Regions from separate parts of the Homo sapiens genome. Here all the other regions are linked to region 1. The links are contacts of gene promoters, found by promoter capture Hi-C in blood cells and fetal thymus (Javierre and others, 2016). All regions are on one chromosome and are shown on one strand. The core of a region is centred on a gene start or on the middle of the fragment in contact, and the rest is flanking DNA. Distances in the headings are between cores, read along the strand shown.

Region 1 (2,700 bases), core at 146-2,645:
CTGCCTCGGCTAGCCTCTCTCGGTTCAGATTTCTCATGCATGAATCAGACATTAGTCCACGGGGACCCTCAAACTACGTATACTGCCAATGGGAGTCTAAATTGGTACCTTGATGCAATCAACCCAGAGAGCAATTTGGTAATAGCTAACAAAGTTGCAGATTTCGCAGCAAATTCACTTTTGGGAATCTGCTTGGTGAATCCATTGCACATGATGTTCATTGCTGCTCTGTAAGGCCGTTAAAGTAGAAATAACCTCTCTCACTAAGGAATGTAAAAACAAATATGGGTCAGTCATACAATGAGCAGTGAAAATTATCTAGCGATTGACCAAATGGATAAATCTTGAGAGTATAATTTTGAGAGAGGAGAAAGGTGCACAATGAGAGGTACAACTATGATTCCATTCCATGATATGTCTAAACATGCAAAAGAAAATATTATTTATGGGTATGCATATAAGGACATGCATGGACATGATATACAACATTCTCAGCACAGTGATTGCCACTGGGGAGGGAGACAGAATGAGATGGAGGAGGTACGCAGGGGCTTCTGCCTATATGTATTGTTCTATTTAAAAAAGAATGAATCATTGATTACACCTCAATAAAGCTGGGAGGAAAAAAGAATGAAAGCAAGTCTGATAAAATTTCAAGCTAGTGGTCGGTCCACAGGAATCTGTATTACTCTATTTGAAATATTTTCATTATTTTACTTAAAAAGTAACAGAAGGGAGTCAGGGAATGAACGCTGGCTGTCCGGAGTCCATCACAAGAGCTGCTACTACTCCAAGCAGACACTAGTAAATTTTGCTAGGGCCTCCTGAAGGCACTTTTGAGTCCAGACAGTCATGGTGCCAGACCCTATTCGGACATCCCACTGGCACTTGAGAGGAAAGGAAAGGAGTGCCGGGAACGTTCCCATAACTTAACGGGTTCCATTCACGTCTACAGCAGGGGAGGGCTCATGTTAAGGAAGCCCAGGAATCCAGCATATCGCCTCATCCTAGGGCCCCCTCTCACAGGAGGCCACGCCCAAGCAAGCAGAGCGTGGCCCCAGCAAGCGCCGAGCTCCCGCAAGGAGACCAAATAGCTTCGGGGTTTTGCCACTAGCTTAGCACAGGCCCATAAGCACCGGGGACTCAAGGCACCTTTGTAGAAACAATGAGTGACTGGAGTCCCAGGTCTTGCCACTACAGAGGCGCGTATGAACCACGGTTTAACACTACGTCTACGCCGAAGTTCGGGTTAGTCAGAGGCCACGCCCACCGCAGGCCCGAAAACACCAGCCTGCACTGGCGCGCCGGATTGTGCGCAGGCTCCACCTGCCACGCACGCACGCCTTGCCCCGCCCCTTCCGGAGGCTCGCCGTACGCATGCGCCCTCCGTCCCGCGCTTTGTTGCGAAAGCGAGGGGGCGAGGTGCTGCGGTGCTAGAGCGCGGCGCGACCGGACGCTGCGGGCGGGGAAGAGGATGGAGACTGTGGCGTCCGCTGCAACGGTTGGGGCTGCGCGTGAGAAGGTGGCGGTGTAGGCACCTGCGCTCGGGGAAGGCTGGCGGCGGCGGCCGAGCCATGGCGGGAGACCCCCTTCTCTGGGCTCCCTGAAGTCTCGGGGAGCCGTGACCCATGGGATCGTTGAGCAGCCGGGTGCTGCGCCAGCCAAGACCAGCCCTTGCCCAGCAGGCGCAGGGTGCCAGGGCGGGGGGCTCGGCCCGGAGGCCGGACACTGGAGACGATGCGGCGGGCCACGGATTCTGTTACTGTGCGGGCAGCCACAAGCGCAAGCGGAGCAGCGGGTCCTTCTGCTACTGTCACCCTGACTCGGAGACGGACGAGGATGAGGAGGAGGGGGACGAGCAGCAGCGGCTCCTCAACACCCCTCGAAGGTACGTGGGGGCACGCACCCGCGCGGACCCGGACCCGCACCTGTTGGGCCTGGGGCCGAGCCGGCGCCTCGTGCGCTTGCGGGGTGCAGCGCTCCCCAGCCTATGGAGAGGGGACGTGCCCTTGACAGGGTGAATGTGGAAGCCGGCCCGATGCGGGGCGGACTGGGGAGCGCCTTGGGAGACGCCAGGTGTTCCGCATTTTCAACCACAGACGCTTCCAGGGTGTTGTTACAGCCCCAAGATGAGGATGAGAAACGCCAAGCCCGAGCTCGCGTCTCGTTAAACCTTAGAGACGCCCGGCTGGCTGGCCTTCCCAGTCCACCTTTGCCCTCTCAAGTGGGTAGCCGCAGAGTAAGTTGTTTTGCATCCGGTTGCCTTAGTACAGACACTAAATGTAATCTCTGAAATAGGCACTCTTATTGTCGCCCACTCAGTGGAGGGTAAGTAATTGCACACAGGAGTTCTTGTTAATTGTAAAGGTGAAGTTTATCAATAGTGTACATTTGTTCCTAACTAGGAACAGAGTCTGTGCAAGTTTCTAGTAGTTGATGAAGTCGTTGACCGTGGATGTACTGTATGTAGGGCGGTGCTGCTGCAGCTTGTTTAACCCCTTTTTTTTTTTTTTTTGGATGAGTTGAAAGATGGAATATTGACTTGTGACCTGGAATGTAGTTTATAGGTAGAATATATGCTTACACAAACAATTTGGTTTTTCTGCTTTTGTTTTTAAAGGTTATTTGGTAGGGTCACACATGAAATTTTTTAAATGATTTCTTTTTCTTTTTGAGACAGAGCCTTGCTCTGTCACTCAG
Region 2 (2,700 bases), core at 109-2,608, 370 kb after region 1:
CTGCCTCAGCCTCCCAAGTAGCTGGGACTACAGGCATGTACCACCACACACAGCTAATTTTTGTATTTTTAGTAGAGACAGGGTTTCACCATGTTGGCCAGATGATCTTGATCTCTTGACCTTGTGATTCACCCACCGCAGCCTCCCAACGTGCTGGGATTACAGGTGTGAGCCACCACACCTGGCTTCAAATGATTATTTTAATCTGAGGTAATCCTGAGTGACCTCGGTGGAGGACACATTTTTTCAGAGAGGATTTTTGCATATCAAACTATATAAGGGATTCTTACTAATTGATAAAAAAAAACAGTGAAACAATCTAATGAAGAAATAGACAAAGGATATGAACAGATATCTCACAGAAATAAATACAAATGGCCAATTATCATGAAAAATGACTAACTTTACTTGTAATCAGGGAAATACAGCTAAAGAGATTATTTTACATTCATTGGATTGGCAAAAGATAAAAGCTTGATAACAACCAGCATTGGTGAAGGAATGTAAGGGAAATAAGAGCTTTCTGACATAAATGGTTGGAGCGTAAAACGGTATATGACCTTTTTTTTTCTGAGATGAAGTCTCGCTCTGTCAGCCAGGCTGGAGTGCAATGACCTAATCTTGCCTCACTACAACCTCCACCTCCCAGGTTCAAGCAATTCTCCTGACTCAGCCTCCCCAGTAGTTGGGACTACAGGTGTGCGCCACCACGCCTGGCTGATTTTTGTATTTTTAGTAGAGACAGGGTTTCACCATGTTGACCAACCACCATGTTGGTCTCGAACTCCTGACCTCGGGGGAATCCACCTGCCTTGGCCTCCCAAAGTGCTGGGATTATAGATGTGAGCCACCGCTCCCAGCTGGTATACAGCCTTTTTTTTTTTTTTTTTTTTTTTGATATACAGCATTTTAAGAGGGTAATTTGGCACTATACAATACAATTTTTACAATTCACATTTCCTTAACCCATTCAATTTCTAAGTATCCTAGAAAAACAGTATAGACATGCACAAAAACACATGAATTCTCTTTTTTTTTTTTCTTGAGACAGGGTCTTGTTTTGTTGCCCAGGCTGCAGTGCAGAGGCATGATCACAGCTCACTGCAGTCTCAACCTCCTGGACGCAAATGATCCTCCTACATCAGCCTCCTGAGCAGGTGGAACCACAGGCACATGCCACCATGCCTGGCTATTTTTTTTTAATTTTTTGTAGAGATGAGGTCTTGCTATGTTGCCCAGGCTGGTCTTGAACTCCTGGGCTCAAGTGATCTGCCCACCTCAGCCTTCCAAATTGCTGGGATTACAGGCATGAGCCACCGCACCCGGCCTGCCTCTGCCTCCTTGAACACTAATGATCCTGAGTTTTATCCACAGTCCTCATCTCACTTGGTGATCTCTACTCCAAGGGTTGAACTAACACGTAAACACAGACGATTCCCATTTCTATATCCAGCCCAGATCACCCTCCGAAATTCCATGTCATTACCTACTGGATATTTCTACCTGTGTCACCCACGTCCAATCTCACATATCGAAAGATAAGGCCAGGCGAGGTGGCTCACGCTTGTAATCCCAGCACTTTGGGAGGCCAAGGCAGGCGGATCACCTGAGGTCAGGAGTTCAAGACTAGCCTAGCCAACATGGCGAAACCCCGTCTCTACCCAAAATACAAAAATTAACTGGGTGTGGTGGCACATACCTGTAATCCCAGCCACTTGGGAGGCTGAGGCACGAGAATTGCTTGAACCCAGGAGGCGGACGGAGGCTGCAGTGAGCCGAGATCACACACTGCACTCCAGCCTGGGCAACAGAGTGAGACTCTGTCTGAAAAAAAAAAAGGTAAGACTAATTTGCTCTCATCTCCTGCTCTCTCACCATGATAGCTCCTGTCCTTACTCACTCTCACAAACATGCTTCTCTGCCTTCTCACATCCCAGTAACTAAGGATCCACCATGCATCTAACTGCTCATCAAGTCTGCAACCTGGAACACGTCTTGACTAAATACAAATTGGATCAGTGGCTCCCTGGGGTCTTCAGGATAAAAAAAGTTTAAATGACATCACATGGCTTAAAGAACTTGGCCCTGATTTGGTCCTTCAATGCCAGCTTTTTATTAACTTACTCCCAGTACTCCAGCTGGTAGTACTGTCCACACGAGGTGGAAAGCCATTTGGTCAAAACTAGATTGTTTGAAATAACAATTTAATTAACTCATTCATTAATCAATTAATTCAACATTTATTAAGCTTTATTATTTACCATGTACTGGATATTATGGCATTGAAGAAATAGTCACCAGGCCAGGAGCAGTGGCTCATGCCTGTAATCCCAGCACTTTGGGAGGCTGAGGCTGGCAGATCACTTGAGGGCAGGAGTTCGAGACCAGCGTGGCCAACATGGTGAAACCCCGTTTCTACTAAAAATACAAAAATTAGCTAGGCGTGGTGGCATGCACCTGTAATCCCTGCTACTTGGGAGGCTGAGGCAGAAGAATCACTTGAACCCTGGAGGTAGAGGTTTCAGTGAGCCGAGATTGTGCCACTGCACTCCAGCCTGGGAGACAGAGCAAGACTCTGTCTCAAAGAAAAAAAAAAAAAAAAAGGAAATAGTCATCAGTACTTTAGTTTAGTGGGGAGGACAGGTTTTAAATAAATAACTACATGAATAATTAAATAGAATTAAAAATTATGACAAATGC
Region 3 (2,700 bases), core at 72-2,571, 360 kb before region 1:
ACAGAGACTGGCAAAAAAGCAGCTATCTATTGAACCAGGGGCACTTTGGATGCCTGAAGTGCTAGATTACATTTTGAGAACTAGGAAGTACCAAGGGGTGTGTGTATGTGCCCATATTCAGGGTTGGAGAGGATGGAAGAACATGTCTAACCCATCAAAATTATTTGTTAAAAAGTGGGTTTTTGGTCGAGAACCCATTTGGAAAACCTTCCAACTCAGAGCATATTCTATGACCTTCATGATGAGTACTGGGAAAATCAGACTTAAAATTCCAACAACTTTGAATAATTTACAAAAACAGTCACAAAAACACCAGAATATCAAGTTTGAAGGGAAAATTAGTCTCCTGTCCTTCAAAACAAGGACAAGAGCTATTTCCTATCTTTCTTTCAGCATCAACAGGCTTTGTAGGAATGGAAAAGTACATTTAAAGGGTTGTCCTGAGAAGGCCAAGTCCCTTAACCTTTCTATTCTTGTTAGAGGAGGTACAGTGTGGCTGAGGCGGAGAGCAACCACACTTTGCAACTCTCCAGGCCTGGCACTCTGAAGGGCAAAGAAATGCCAGAGAATATGGGGGAAGCCCAGACCTCCACATTCCCTTAAGGAATTCTGGTGGTGGCAGCACCAGAAACAAGGTAGTCGAGAGAAGGATAAATTCCAAATATACTAGAAACAGAAGGTAACCATTAAATCTTGTTGGCAGATAAAAGTCTTTTTTTGAGTATGTGAATGTGTTCTTACAGGGAAAATGTGTTTTCAGGGTGAACAGTTCCTTTATATGAAGGTAGCATTGTGTCAACAAGAAAACGTGTTTGAAGCAGTCTCTTTACTAGCATTGAAGGATTTATACTAACCTAACCACATGCCTTGACCCAGTTCCTTTGGTAACCAATGGCACGTCATAGCAGATACCCTGTGGCCATAGAGCTCAGTAAACACTGCCTGTTGTACCTCAGGGGCTAAAGCCCAGGGCCTGGCTTCATAGTCTGCACAGGGTCTTACTTATCATAGAGCCTAACGTAGGGTTTTGTTATAATTCCCTCAAACTGGATCATGCCTCTTTTTATTTTGGTTTCACACATAAAATTAAGCAAGAAGTCAAAACATACTTCTTTTTCTTGCTCTGATGTAGGACTGTGTGCCAGGTTAGGCACGTTGACACTTTCAATATGGGTAACTCCATATTAGTCTATTTTGAGGCTCCAAATTATGTAGATTTCAGCAAGAACTCACATGCTTCAGGGAAGAGAAGGAGTTCCTAAAATACCTGACAACTTGGCAACTATCCTCACCAGCTCCCTATTCACTTCCAAAGCAACCCAAAGTGCTGAATCATTTAGGATGGGTTTCCCCTGGAAACTCCATCTGATTGACATAGTGAGGGCCATCAGAATGCTCCCTACAGAATTAAAATCTGAAGACTTAAATGTCAGGCTGGATATTCCTTAATGAAATACATCACACAACACCAGAAGTTTACTTTTCCTCATACCAAAAACTGAAAGAACGGTTACAGGGAGTATCAAAGATATGATTCTTGCCAAAAACAGAAAACGAAGACTTGGAGCATTGAGAAGAAGCCTTCTCACATATAGTTAGTAAACAGAAAGCAAAATATCCCTTCACAAGAACTTGGAAATGCAGCAGCAATTGAAACGTAAAATTTTAGAACCAAACTGGGGAAATCAAGAGACGTACATCAAACTAATAATTACCATGACCTTCTAGCTCACATAACAAAATTAAGCATTTGGTTCCACCATATATTAGGTAGCTGCATTAAAACCCACGACTGGGAAATGAGGGACCTCATGGAAGCCAAAAATGGCCAGCTGTGCCTCTCAGGCCAATGAGGCAATTAAATGAGTGAGTTTTCTCACTGGGGATAAAATTATTCTTGCCAACACAAAATGTTTAATTAAGTTGGCCTGGGTATATTAGGGATTAAGTTAGAGGAGGGAAGCTGCAAACCTGCGCTCCATTTTACAACCCTGAGTCTGGTCATATCCAGTGTAGGCTGGCAGGCGTCTTATTCTCCTTGAGACTAAAACAGGGGTTTTACTCTCTCAGGTAGCCATGATTCATTAATATGTCCTCAGTGTGTAGCTATACTTTTCTTGTGCCCAGGTACTTATTGTCACTCAATACTGTGATTAAATCCTTTCTGCAAAAAAGTGGGTTTTCAGCTCAGGAAAAGAGCAACTTATTTTAAGTTATTTACATCTCTAAACATCATGCTCCCATTTGAACAGATAAAAGTCTTTATTCCCCTGTATGTTTACATAAGAAAGTTCTTTACAGACTTTTTTTTATACAATACTTGTGCAGCAATGTTCAAATTTCACGTTTTTACTGCATAAGATATCTTCATGTACAACTGTATGCTTTGTCTTCTTGGGAAGGACGCGTTAAAGACCTATGATAAACACACATCCACATGACAAAGGAGAGTGCAATAGGGCAGAGTAGAATACTCACAGGAAAAGAGTAAATTCAGGTCACTACATCAAAGTGTGAACCAAGAACGTGTCTTTAATTCTAGCAACTACCACCATTTGGTAACTTCTTTGCATAGGTTAGCATTACCCAAGGAGCCTCCCTATCCCGTATTAGTGAAAGGAAATCTGGGAGAAGCAAAAGAGGTTTCTTGTTATAGATTTCCTAGCACTCATTCTGATTTAAGAAATCTAAGCACATCCA
Region 4 (2,700 bases), core at 73-2,572, 390 kb after region 1:
TCTCCTGACCTCGTGATCCGCCTGCCTTGGCTTCCCAAAGTGCTGGGATTACAGGCGTGAGCCACCGCACCCGGCAAGAAGGCCATTCTTAGCGCTAAGAGGAGAATGGCTTAGGATAATGGGTAGTAAGGGGATAAAGATACTTTATGAAACTTGTGCAATATTCTAGATTTTTAAAAAGTGTTGGTGGCCAGGAGCATTGCAGTAGCAGTGAATGTAACTTAAACTCAAGGCCAAAATAATGGGGGCTGGAGGGGACACCACAAGCAAAAGGAGAGAAAAGATAACTCTTAGGTTCCTCTAGAGAAATTGGAAAGACAGCATTTATTGAAATGCGGAGAAAGACTAGGAAAGAAAAGGGGAACAGGTCTGAGGAAGAAACAAAAAGCTCCATTAAGAAAAAACTTTGAGATGCCTGTGAGACATATAAATGAAGACCATTTGTTAATAAATGTGGAACGCAGAGAAGTAGACTGAAGATACAAAATTCATGCAGACTAGAGAAAGAGCCTAGGACAGAGCCCTGAAAAACAGCAAAACTTGAAAAATGGGTAAAGGAATAATCACTAGCTAAGGTGACTAGGGAGGAGTAGCCAGTGATGAAGGAAGAAAGCCACAAAAGTGTATGGTCCAGGGAGCCAAGAAAACAGAGGTTAAGAGGTGACCTTGAAAATAGAGTAGCATTGGTACAAAGTGAGAGTAAAACCAGCTTAGAGTAGACTAAAAAGTAAATGGAGTGTAACTTTTGTGTGCACACATCAAAGGTAAGCTTAATCTACTACTGAAGGAACAGGCAAATTCAAGGCCTTTCTTGAAATATGAAAACGAAATGCTTTAAAAAAAAATTAAATAGGGTCTTATTCTGTCATCCAGGCATGATCACAGCTTACTGTAGCCTTGAACTCCTTGGGCTCAAGTGATACTCCCACCTCAGCCTCCTAGTAGCTAGGACTATAAGCATGCACCAACAAGGTTGGCTGTTTTTTTTATTTTTTTAATTTCTTTACTATGGTAGGAACAGCCTTTACTGGTTGCAACAGGCAATGGGAGGGATTCGGGGTCCACAGACTAGGTCGCCAGGCTTTTTTTTTTTTTTTTTTTTAATGGAGACAGGGTCTTGCTGTTGCCCAGGCTGGTTTCTAACTCCTGGGCTCAAGCAGTCCTCCTCCTGCCTTGGCCTCCCAAAGTTCTGTTATTACAGGAATGAGCCACTGTGCCTGGCAGGAAATGCACATTCTTAAAAAGAAACAAATATTATCACCCCAACCAGTCCGAACTCCATGAGACGCTTAACTAATGTTATGTGTTGAATTGTGTCCCTCAAAACGATATGAAGTCCTATACCCTGGTATCTGTGAAATATGGCCTTATTTGGAAACAGGGTCTTTGCCGAAGTAATTAAGATGAGGTTATACTGGATTAAGGTGGGCCCCAAATCCAATGACTCAAGTCCTCATAAGAAGTAAAGATCAGACTGGGCACGGTGGCTCACACTTATAATCCCAGCACTTGGGAGGCCGAGGCAGGTGGATCATGAGCCCAGGAGTTCGAGACCAGCCTGGACAACATGACAAAATCCTGTCTCTACAAAAAATAGAAAAATTAGCTGGGCATGGTGTTGCAACACCTGTAGTCCCAGCTACTTAGGAGGTTGTGATGGAAAGATCACCTAAGCCTGGGAGGTCAAGGCTGCAGTGAGTTGTGATTGTGCCACCACACTCCAGCCTGGGTGACAGAGTGAGGTCCTGTCTCGAAAAAAAAAGATGATGATTATATGGATACACAAAGAGAGAAGATGGTCATGTGAAGATGAAGGCAGAGATTGGAGTTATACAGCTACAAGCCAATGAATGCCAAGAATTACCAGCAACCACCAGAAGCTTGGAAGAAGCAACAAAGGATTCTTCTACAGAGCCTTCAAAAGAGCATGGACATGCTGACACCTTGATTGTGAATTTCACGCCTCCAAAACATTGAGAAAATAAATTTTTGTTGCTCTAAGCCATCCAGTTTATGATACTTTGATACAGCTCCTCAGGAAAAAAATAAAACTACTCACTCAAAAAAGTGGAAAAAAAACAGAGATGTATCTATGTTGGTGGTTGTGAATGGGAGATAAAGTAGAAGCATATGCAAACAACTCTTGAGAATTATAGCCAAGAAATGGGGATACAGTTAGGGAAGGGATGTGAGGATAAACAGTGGTTTTGATTAAGAGATACTAGATGGCCAGGAACGGTGCCTCATGCCTATAACCCCACCACTTTGGGAGGCCAAGGCGGGCGGACTGGTGGAAGCCAGGAGTTCGAGGCCAGACTGGGCAACAAAGTGAGATTGTTCCTACAAAAAAATATATATATATATTTTTGAGACGGAGTCTCACTCTGTTGCCCAGGCTGGAGTGCAGTGGCATAATCTCAGCTCACTGCAACCTTTGCCTCCCAGGTTCAAGCGATTCTCCTGCCTCAGCCTCCTGAGTAGCCGTGATTACAGGCGTGTGCCACCATGCCTGGCTAATTTTTCTATTTTTAGTAGAGACGGGGTTTCACCATGTTGGTCAGGCTGGTCTCGAACTTCTGACCTCATGATCTGCTTGCCTCGGCCACCCAAAGTGCTGGGATTACAAGTGTGAGCCACCATGCCTGGCCTTTTTTTAAAAAAAAATTAGGTGGGCATGGTGGTGTACACCTGTGGTCCCAG
Region 5 (2,700 bases), core at 47-2,546, 330 kb before region 1:
CAGCCTTTAAAGCACTCCCTTCTGGGGCCCCTAGTTCCCTCTGGGACTTTCACTTCCCCCAACCTGTGTGTATAGTTCTTCGCAACTTGATTCTCCGTATAGATTAGAATGAGCACCACTGCAATCATGATACAGAACTGTTCCATGAAACCAAAGACCTCCTCATTCTACTCCTTTGTAGTGACACCCACCACTTATTCCTGTTACTATTCTTTGGAAACCACTATTCTGTTCTCAGTCTCTATAATTTTGTTATTAAAGTGGGTTTTAAACTAAGTTTCTTTAAAGGTAGAAGGAGGAAAAGAAGGATAAAATAACTGCTTTTAAGTCCTTGAAATATTTTAAAACGACACAATGAAACATATTTAAAAGAAAAAAAGCAAACTGCAAAACTGAATATACGGTGTAAGTCATATTTGAAAAAAATTTATATGCAGAAATAAAATTCTAGATACAAATACTGTAAAATGTCAGCAAATGCTCTTCTCTCAAGGTGGGGTTATAAGATTTTATTTTCTTTACTTTGGGCCTTATTCATTTCTCCACATTTTTATAAATGAACATGTGTAAATTATACACAGGAAAACATATGAAAATAAAGAGGCACCATGTGAAGTTTTAAATGTTTGCCTGTTTCTCCTCCAATGTATAGACACAGTCTGTCATTTTTGCAGCTTTTACCATACAAATGTTTAATATAGCCCCGTGCCATCCTCCCGAACCCATTATGACATTTCCTGCTTAGTTTCTCCTTTGATCAATCAGAAGGTTTAAAATCTGTAAACAGTCTGAGTTCAGTTAGAAAATTTATAGAAAATGATGTCATCTTGCCCTTTGTACAAACGAGAGCAAATGAGTTCCTGGGATCTAGATGTAATTTTCTTTCATTTGTAAAGAATGAAGGTGTCACAGAAAAGAAACATTTACACTGCAAACAAGAGAGAGGGGAAAATATCAAATGTTGATAGAAAAAGACCAGATAAACTGAGGAAACTATGAAGACACTTTTTAATGTTTGTAAAAGCTTAGTGTTGCTGGTTTATGAGATTCCTGAGATGTGGTTATAACTACAGTTTTTGAGCTGGGCTACAGGTACAAATCTCTATTCTGTCATTCTCCAGCTGTGCCCTTGGGCAGGTGGTCTTTGTGAGGATCACCTGAGATAATGAGCAAGAAAAGTGCTTACCCAGTGGGTTTAACATGCCTCAAGTGCTTGATACATGTTCAATGTTATTACTGTCATAACTTTACTCAAATATGTGTTTGTAGCTGTGCCTTTAAGTCCCTTAAAATATATATATATATATATATATATATATATATATACACACACACACACACACACACACACACACACACAACCATTTGCAGCCTTTGGAGTAAATATAAAGTAGTGGAAAGGCAGAAACAAAAACAAAATAAACCTCATTAAAAAACAGCTCATACAAACAGTGAAACATAACCATGTGTAATAGATGAAAACTAGGCATTAAAACTGGGGTTGGTAGGGTGAGTAGATGGAAAATGATCAGGGACCTCGATTGTTAACGCTGCTGAATCCAAGGTCCTAAGCTTTGGCACAAAGCAACTCTTCTTATTCATTCAACACGTCTGTATGGAGCCAAACATCGTGCCAAATTCTGGGACTCAGCAGCAAAGAAGACTCTCAGGGCTTATTCTGTGACCCTCTTTCCAGACAAACTATATCCTACCCAGGTCCATGGCTAATCATCATTTTGATGTTCTATTTCAAAGACAACAGTCAATGCTTTACACATTTGATATGTTTGGTCAACTATGTGGCACATCAAACTTCAAGCAGCATGAACTGGTTTTGGAACATTTTCAAATTTCACCAAAATATCAATATACTTATACAATTTACACAAACAAAGCTAAAAGTGAAACAAAAATTTTTAACTACTTAATGATGAAAAGCATAACTCCAAAATAATAATGAGAATATCATACGAATATTTATGAGCTATGGTTAAGCTCCACAAAACCCCATTTTTTTTTTTACTAGGGAAATACACACTCATTAGAAAGCATTCTTAATAAACAGTGTAATCTTCAAAGGTTGAAGCGAGGCAACTGGAGAAAGAGGAAGGAGGACATTGGAATATTTTCACATGACAAAGCCTCCCTGAAGATTATAATTAGCCTCCCTCCCCACTTTTGTGCTGGGTGAAAATGACTGTCAAATTGTGAAGAAAAACTCACAGCCCAAGTACTTTATTTTTTAAAAAAGAATTTTAAAATATGTTACTATGTGTTCCTCTTAATATCACCAAATATAAGAAAAACAAGAAAATGGCCAGGCGAGGTGGCTCACGCCTGTAATCCCAGCATTTGGGAGGCCGAGGTGGGTGGATCACCTGAGGTCACGAATTTGAGACCAGCCTGGCCAATATGGTGAAACCCCATCTCTACTAAAAATACAAAACATTAGCTGGGCACGGTGGCGTGCAACTGTTGTCCCAGCTGCTTGGGAGGCTGAGACAGGAGAATTGCTTGAACCCAGGAGGCAGAGGTTGCAGTGAACAGATATCCCACCACTGCACTCCAGCCTAGGCAACAGAGCGAGACACCATCTCACACAAACAAACAAACAGGAAAATGTAATAAAGATAAAAGCAAAAGGTAAAGAATAAAAAAGAAAACAGAAGATTTTATAAATCTAAGTGTTGTCTCTGAAAA
Region 6 (2,700 bases), core at 194-2,693, 390 kb before region 1:
CAAAGTGCTGAGATTACAGGCATGAGACACCACACCTGGCCCGTCTTTTTTTTTTGAGACTGAGTCTCACTTTGTCGCCCACGCTGGAGTGCAGTGATGCGATCCCAGCTTACTGCAACCTCCACCTCCTGGGTTCAAGTGATTCTCTTGCCTCAGCCTCCCTAGTAGCTGGGATTACAGGTGTACACCATCACACCCGGCTAATTTTTATATTTTTAGTAGAGACAGGGTTTCACCACGTTGGCCAGGCTGATCTCCAACTCCTGACCTAAAGTGATCCACCTGCCTTGGCCTCCCAAAATGCTGGGATTACACAGCCAACGATCTTGATCACGCTTTTCGTGTTTTGTTTTGAGACAGGGTCTTGTTCTGTCACCCATGCTGGAGTACAATGGTGTGATCAGGGCTCACTGCAGCCTCAACATCCTAGGCTCAAGTGATTCTCCCACCTCAGCCTCCCAAGTAGGTGACACTACAGCTGTATGCCACCATGCCCAGCTAGTTTTTTTTTTTTTTTTTACTTCTGGTAGAGATGGATTACCACTATGTTGCTCAGGCTGATCTCCAGCTCCTGGCTCAAGTAATCCTCCCACTTTGGCCTCCCAAAGTGCTGGGATTATAGGCGTGAGCCACCATGCCCTGCCTTTTATATGCTTTTTGGATGGAAACATATTAACCCAGTGTTGTAACTTCACTTCACTTTTTTTTTTCTTTTTTTTTTTGTGAGACGGAGTCTTGCTCTGTCGCCCAGGATGGAGTGCAGTGGTGCGATCTTGGCTCACTGCAACCTCCGCCTCCTGGGTTCAAGCAATTCTCCGCCTCAGCCTCCCAAGTAGCTGGGATTATAGATGCCCACCACCATGCCCGGCTAATTTTTGTATTTTTAGTAGAGACAGGGTTTCACCATCTTGGCCAGGCTGGTCTTGAACTCCTGACCTCATGATCCACTAGCCTCGGCCTCCCAAAGTGCTGGGATTACAGGCGTGAGCCACAGCGCCAGGCCTCTAACTTTACTTCACTCTTACAGAGAAAACTTAATTGGCTATTTTTTATGGCTTTGACAAACTGAAAACAAAGGAAGAAAATGAAAGCAAATATTACTGGAAAAGGAAGTAAAAGGAGACTTTAATAGTAAAAATTCTTAAAATCCCAATGCAATTTACTTTAAAATCCGGTTTACTTGAAAATATCATCGCTATCCATTACCACTGCCACTTCATAGGAGCCATAGAAAAATTTTAAGTACAGGAGTCATTTATAATTGCCAATGGGTTCACTTTGCCCACTGTCCAGATACTGCTAATTCATCAAGACAGGGGATTTGCAATAAAGAGTTTAATTCACATGGAGCCAGCTGAAAGGGAGAGTGGAGTTTTAGTACTCAGTCTCTCTGGATCTGAGGCTAGGGGTTTTCAAGGATAGACTGGCAGGCCAGGGAACGGGTGTTGCTGACTGGTTGGGGATGCAATCATAGGGGTGCGGAAAATGATCCTCCTGAGTGCTCAGCCCGTTTGTGGGCGGGGCCACAGGACCAGTCAGAAATGCAAAAACCTGAAAAGGCTAATCTTAGGTTCTACAAGAGAGATGTTTTCTGCAGGAGTAATTGGGGAAGTTGCAACTCTTAGGACCGCCAGAATAATGGCTGGTAATCATTTACATCTACACCTTAGCAGAATTCAGGCTCCTCTCATCCTCCAAACCTGGTGGTCTTTCATTAGCTTTATAAAGGTGGTTTAATTTTGGGAAAGGGCTATTATCATTTAAACTATAAACTAAATGTCTCCCAAAGTTAGCTTGGCCCAAGCCCGGGAATGGGCAGTCTAGAGGTTAAAGGCAAAATGATGGTCAGTTAGAACGGTCTTTCACTGTCATAATTTTCTGTTAAAATTTTTTCCAAAGGCCAAAATTGTTTGTGATCATACACAAGATCACATTTATCTAATTATCTTCTGCTTAAAATAGGCAAGAAGCAACAGCGGCTGCCACATTTTTTTCTCTCTCTCACAAAACTGGAATTCTTCTCGTGGAAAAGAAAGAGTGGGCACCAATTAAGTATTAACAAAATACAGATGAACTGTTTACTACCTTCAATAATCTTTATATGCCATTGATAAGCAAAAGACTACTGGGATACTGTGGGACTGTAACCCATAGAGTTTCTTAGATGCTATTGGAGAGATAAAAGGATTGGCACCGAGGATTCAAGAGAACAATGGAATCAACACTGAATGGGAATCAAATAATCTGTGAAGTCCTGACTGCCACTCCCCACACTAGCTCCAGTGTTGATCACAGTAAGAGCTGTCACCACTTTATTTTGAGATGGAAATAATCTCGCTTTTCTCACTCTGTCACCCAGGCTGAAGTGCAGTGGCGTGATCTTGGCTCACTGCAACCTCCACCTCCCTGGTTCAAGCAATTCCCCTGCCTCAGCCTCCCAACTCGCTGGGATTACAGGCACACACCACCACGCCCAGCTTTTTTTTTTTTTTTTTTAGTTTCACCATGTTGGCCAGACTGGTCTCGAACTCCTGACCTCAGCCAATCCGCCCAGCTTGACCTCTCAAAGTGCTGGGATTACAGGCGTGAGCCACCACGCCCGGCACACCACTTTAAATTACATGAATCTATTACAGCACTCATGACTGTCATTATTTGTTAATATATTTTTCTTGCTAGACTGCATACTCATTAAGGGGA
Region 7 (2,700 bases), core at 38-2,537, 340 kb after region 1:
ACTCTGTTGCCCAGGCTGGAGTGCAATGGCATGATCTCGGCTCACTGCAACCTCTGCCTCCCGGGTTCAAGCAATCCTCCTGCCTCAGCCTCCTGAGTAGCTGTGACTACAGGCGTGCACCACCACGCCTGGCTAATTTTTGTATTTTTAGTAGAGATGGGGTTTCACCATGTTGGCCAGGCTGGTCTCAAACTCCTGACCTCGTGATCCACCCACCTCGGCCACCCAAAGTGCTGGGATTACAGGCGTGAGCCACCGTGCCTGGCCAAAATTTTTTTTTAAATTAGCCAGGCGTGGTGGTATGCACCTGCTGTCCCAGCTACTTGGGAGGCTGAGGTGGGAGGATCAACTGAGTCGAGGAGGTTGAGGCTGCAGTAAGCCATGATCACGCCACTGCACTCCAGCCTGGGCAACAGAGTGAGACCCTCCCTCAAAAAGGAAAAAAAAAGAAAAGAAAAGAGAGGCCAGGCGTGGTGACTCACACCTGTAATCCCAGCACTTTGGGAGGCCGAGGTGGGTGGATTACCTGAGGTCAGGAGTTCGAGACCAGCTTGGCCAACATGGTGAAAACCCATCTCTACTAAAAAAAAAAAAAAAAAAAAAAATTAGCTGGGCATGGTGGTGTGTGCCTGTAATTCCAGCTACTCAGGAAGCTGAGGCAGGAGAATCGCTTGAACCCAGGAGGCAGAGGTTGCAGTGAGCCGAGATCATGCCACTGCACTCTAGCTTGGGCAACAGGGTGAGACTCCACTGAAAAAAAAGAAAAAAGACAATGAAAAAACAAACCAACACAGTAGACCCTTGTCATCCACCAAGTATAACATTTCAAATCCGCAAATTTTAAAAAGACCAACACAGCACAGACTTTCCCCCTTAAAGGGTATGCGAAGTAAGATGGGATGAGAACAATGAGGCCGAGGTGGCTGCCTCCACTTGATTCCCTTTTGCTCGCTATCCCCAGGTTCTTGCTATTTGCATTCATGTCTAAGCAAACTAATGACATGCTCTCTCACCCGATGGTCAGCACCATGAATGCTGAGGGACTACAAGTTAGGACACTGCTTACCCAGCAAGCATCTGTCTTTCTCTCTGAATATGACCTCAAGGCAGGTAAAATACTTGAAAGTACTTAACCAACCTCTTAAAGAACCTTGCGGCCAGGCACAGTGGCTCACACCTGTAATCCCAGCCCTTTGGGAGGATGAGGCAGGTGGATCACCAGGTCAGGAAATTGAGACCATCCTGGCTAACATGGTGAAACTCCATCTCTACTAAAAATACAAAAAATTAGCCGGGCATGGTGGCATGCGCCTGTAGTCCCAGCTACTTGGGAGGCTGAGGCAGGAGAATCGCCTGAACCTGGGAGGCGGAGGTTGCAGTGAGCCAAGATCACGCCACTGCACTCCAGCCTGGGCGACAGAGTGAGACTCTGTCTCAAAAAAAAAAAAAGAAAAGAAACTTGTCAGACATTAGGTCAACAAAAAGAGTTAAGGGGAGGGGGTCAAGTGAGTTCAGTCTTTCTTAAAAATTCTGTCCAGACCAGGTGTGGTGGCTCACACCTGTAATTCCAACACTTTGGGAGGCCTAGGCAGGCGGATCACTTGAGGTCAGAAGTTCGAGACCAGCCTGGCCAACATGGTGAAACCCTGTCTCTATTAAAAATACAAAAATTAGCCAGGAGTGGTGACACATGCCTATAATCCCAGCTACTCAGGAGGCTGAAACACGAGAATTTCTTGAGCCTGGGAGGTGGAGGTTGCAGTGAACTGAGATTGTACCACTGCACTCCAGCCTGTGTGACAGAGCAAGACTGTCTCAAAAAATAAAAAAGAATTAACTTCAAAAAGGTAAAACACACACACTCATAGTCAAGGAGCGAGCTGATGGAAACCTGGACAAAGGTGGTAGTAATGGAGATGGTAAGATGGAATAGAGGGTGGTACAGGAATGGGATGGAAGAGGGAATAGGATGGGATGGAAGAGGACTACAAGTGTTTAGCTTATAGTATTATCAATATTCTGTTTTCTGGGCTGGGCACGGTGGTTCACGCCTGTAATCCCAGCACTTTGGGAGGCCGAGGTAGGTGGATCACCTGAGGTCAGGAGTTCAAGACCAGCCTGGTTAACATGGTGAAACCCCATCTCTACTAAAAATACAAAAAATTGGCCAGGCATGGTGGTGCGTGCCTGTAATCCCAGCTACTTGGGAGGCTGAGGCAGGAGAATTGCTTGAACCTGGGAGGTGGAGATTACAGTGAGCCAAGATCACGCCACTGCACTCCAGCCTGGGCGACAAGTGATTCACCTACCTCAGCCTCCTGAGTAGTTGGGACTACAGGCCTCTGCCACCATGCCCAGCTATAGGATCCTTTTTTTTTTTTTTTGAGATGGAGTCTCACTTAGTCACCCAGGCTGGAGTGCAGTGGTGCAATCTCAGATCACTGTAAGCTCCACCTCCTGGGTTCACGCCATTCTCCTGCCTCAGCCTCCCGAGTAGCTGGGACTACAGGCACCCGCCACCACACCTGGCTAATTTTTTTGTATTTTTAGTAGAGATGGGGTTTCACTGTGTTAGCCAGGATGGTCTCAATCTTCTGACCTCGTGATCCGCCCGCCTCAGCCTCCCAAAGTGCTGGGATTACAGGCATGAGCCACCGCACCCGGCTGCTAATAGGATACTTTTAAGGCAACAAGCAGAGA

The links. The method cuts DNA at HindIII sites, captures the fragments that hold promoters and counts their contacts. A CHiCAGO score of 5 or more calls a contact.
Region 2: a contact is called between a fragment that was not itself captured here and the fragment with the promoter of GMCL1 in region 1, in 2 of 17 cell types (fetal thymus and erythroblasts). The highest score is 5.4, in fetal thymus.
Region 3: a fragment that was not itself captured here is called in contact with the fragment with the promoter of GMCL1 in region 1 in 3 of 17 cell types (total CD8 T cells, naive CD8 T cells and total CD4 T cells); the score reaches 6.0 in total CD8 T cells.
Region 4: a contact is called between a fragment that was not itself captured here and the fragment with the promoter of GMCL1 in region 1, in 1 of 17 cell types (fetal thymus). The highest score is 5.3, in fetal thymus.
Region 5: a contact is called between a fragment that was not itself captured here and the fragment with the promoter of GMCL1 in region 1, in 3 of 17 cell types (non-activated CD4 T cells, total CD8 T cells and total CD4 T cells). The highest score is 6.5, in non-activated CD4 T cells.
Region 6: a contact is called between a fragment that was not itself captured here and the fragment with the promoter of GMCL1 in region 1, in 4 of 17 cell types (naive CD4 T cells, total CD8 T cells, naive CD8 T cells and 1 more). The highest score is 8.6, in naive CD4 T cells.
Region 7: a fragment that was not itself captured here is called in contact with the fragment with the promoter of GMCL1 in region 1 in 2 of 17 cell types (neutrophils and naive CD8 T cells); the score reaches 6.7 in neutrophils.

Annotation. Positions count from the first base shown.
Region 1 is chr2:69,828,265-69,830,964 of GRCh38, forward strand. GMCL1 (germ cell-less 1, spermatogenesis associated) reads left to right here and starts at 1,396. Exons shown (of 14, transcript NM_178439.5): 1 at 1,396-1,888. The coding sequence starts at 1,629. It overlaps LOC124906021 (a long non-coding RNA gene), which reads right to left and starts at 1,267. Exons shown (of 2, transcript XR_007086846.1): 1 at 1-1,267. RefSeq lists enhancers at 432-1,353, 748-837, 1,354-2,274 and silencers at 1,248-1,477, 1,858-1,937, 1,885-2,060. The HindIII fragment of the contact is 7,336 bases long and covers 1-2,700 here.
Region 2 is chr2:70,196,581-70,199,280 of GRCh38, forward strand. No RefSeq gene overlaps it. Among named protein-coding and RNA genes, the nearest start is that of C2orf42, 6.9 kb to the left of the region's middle. The HindIII fragment of the contact is 1,775 bases long and covers 472-2,246 here.
Region 3 is chr2:69,468,681-69,471,380 of GRCh38, forward strand. AAK1 (AP2 associated kinase 1) reads right to left here. Exons shown (of 22, transcript NM_014911.5): 22 at 1-2,700. Among named protein-coding and RNA genes, the nearest start is that of NFU1, 33 kb to the left of the region's middle. The HindIII fragment of the contact is 2,984 bases long and covers 1-2,700 here.
Region 4 is chr2:70,218,657-70,221,356 of GRCh38, forward strand. The region is part of intron 7 of TIA1 (TIA1 cytotoxic granule associated RNA binding protein); the gene reads right to left. Among named protein-coding and RNA genes, the nearest start is that of TIA1, 29 kb to the right of the region's middle. The HindIII fragment of the contact is 1,111 bases long and covers 768-1,878 here.
Region 5 is chr2:69,499,374-69,502,073 of GRCh38, forward strand. All of the region lies in intron 16 of AAK1 (AP2 associated kinase 1), which reads right to left. Among named protein-coding and RNA genes, the nearest start is that of SNORA36C, 19 kb to the right of the region's middle. The HindIII fragment of the contact is 548 bases long and covers 1,023-1,570 here.
Region 6 is chr2:69,433,439-69,436,138 of GRCh38, forward strand. All of the region lies in intron 1 of NFU1 (NFU1 iron-sulfur cluster scaffold), which reads right to left. Among named protein-coding and RNA genes, the nearest start is that of NFU1, 2.6 kb to the right of the region's middle. The HindIII fragment of the contact is 4,427 bases long and covers 1-2,700 here.
Region 7 is chr2:70,165,922-70,168,621 of GRCh38, forward strand. All of the region lies in intron 6 of C2orf42 (chromosome 2 open reading frame 42), which reads right to left. Among named protein-coding and RNA genes, the nearest start is that of C2orf42, 24 kb to the right of the region's middle. The HindIII fragment of the contact is 4,037 bases long and covers 1-2,700 here.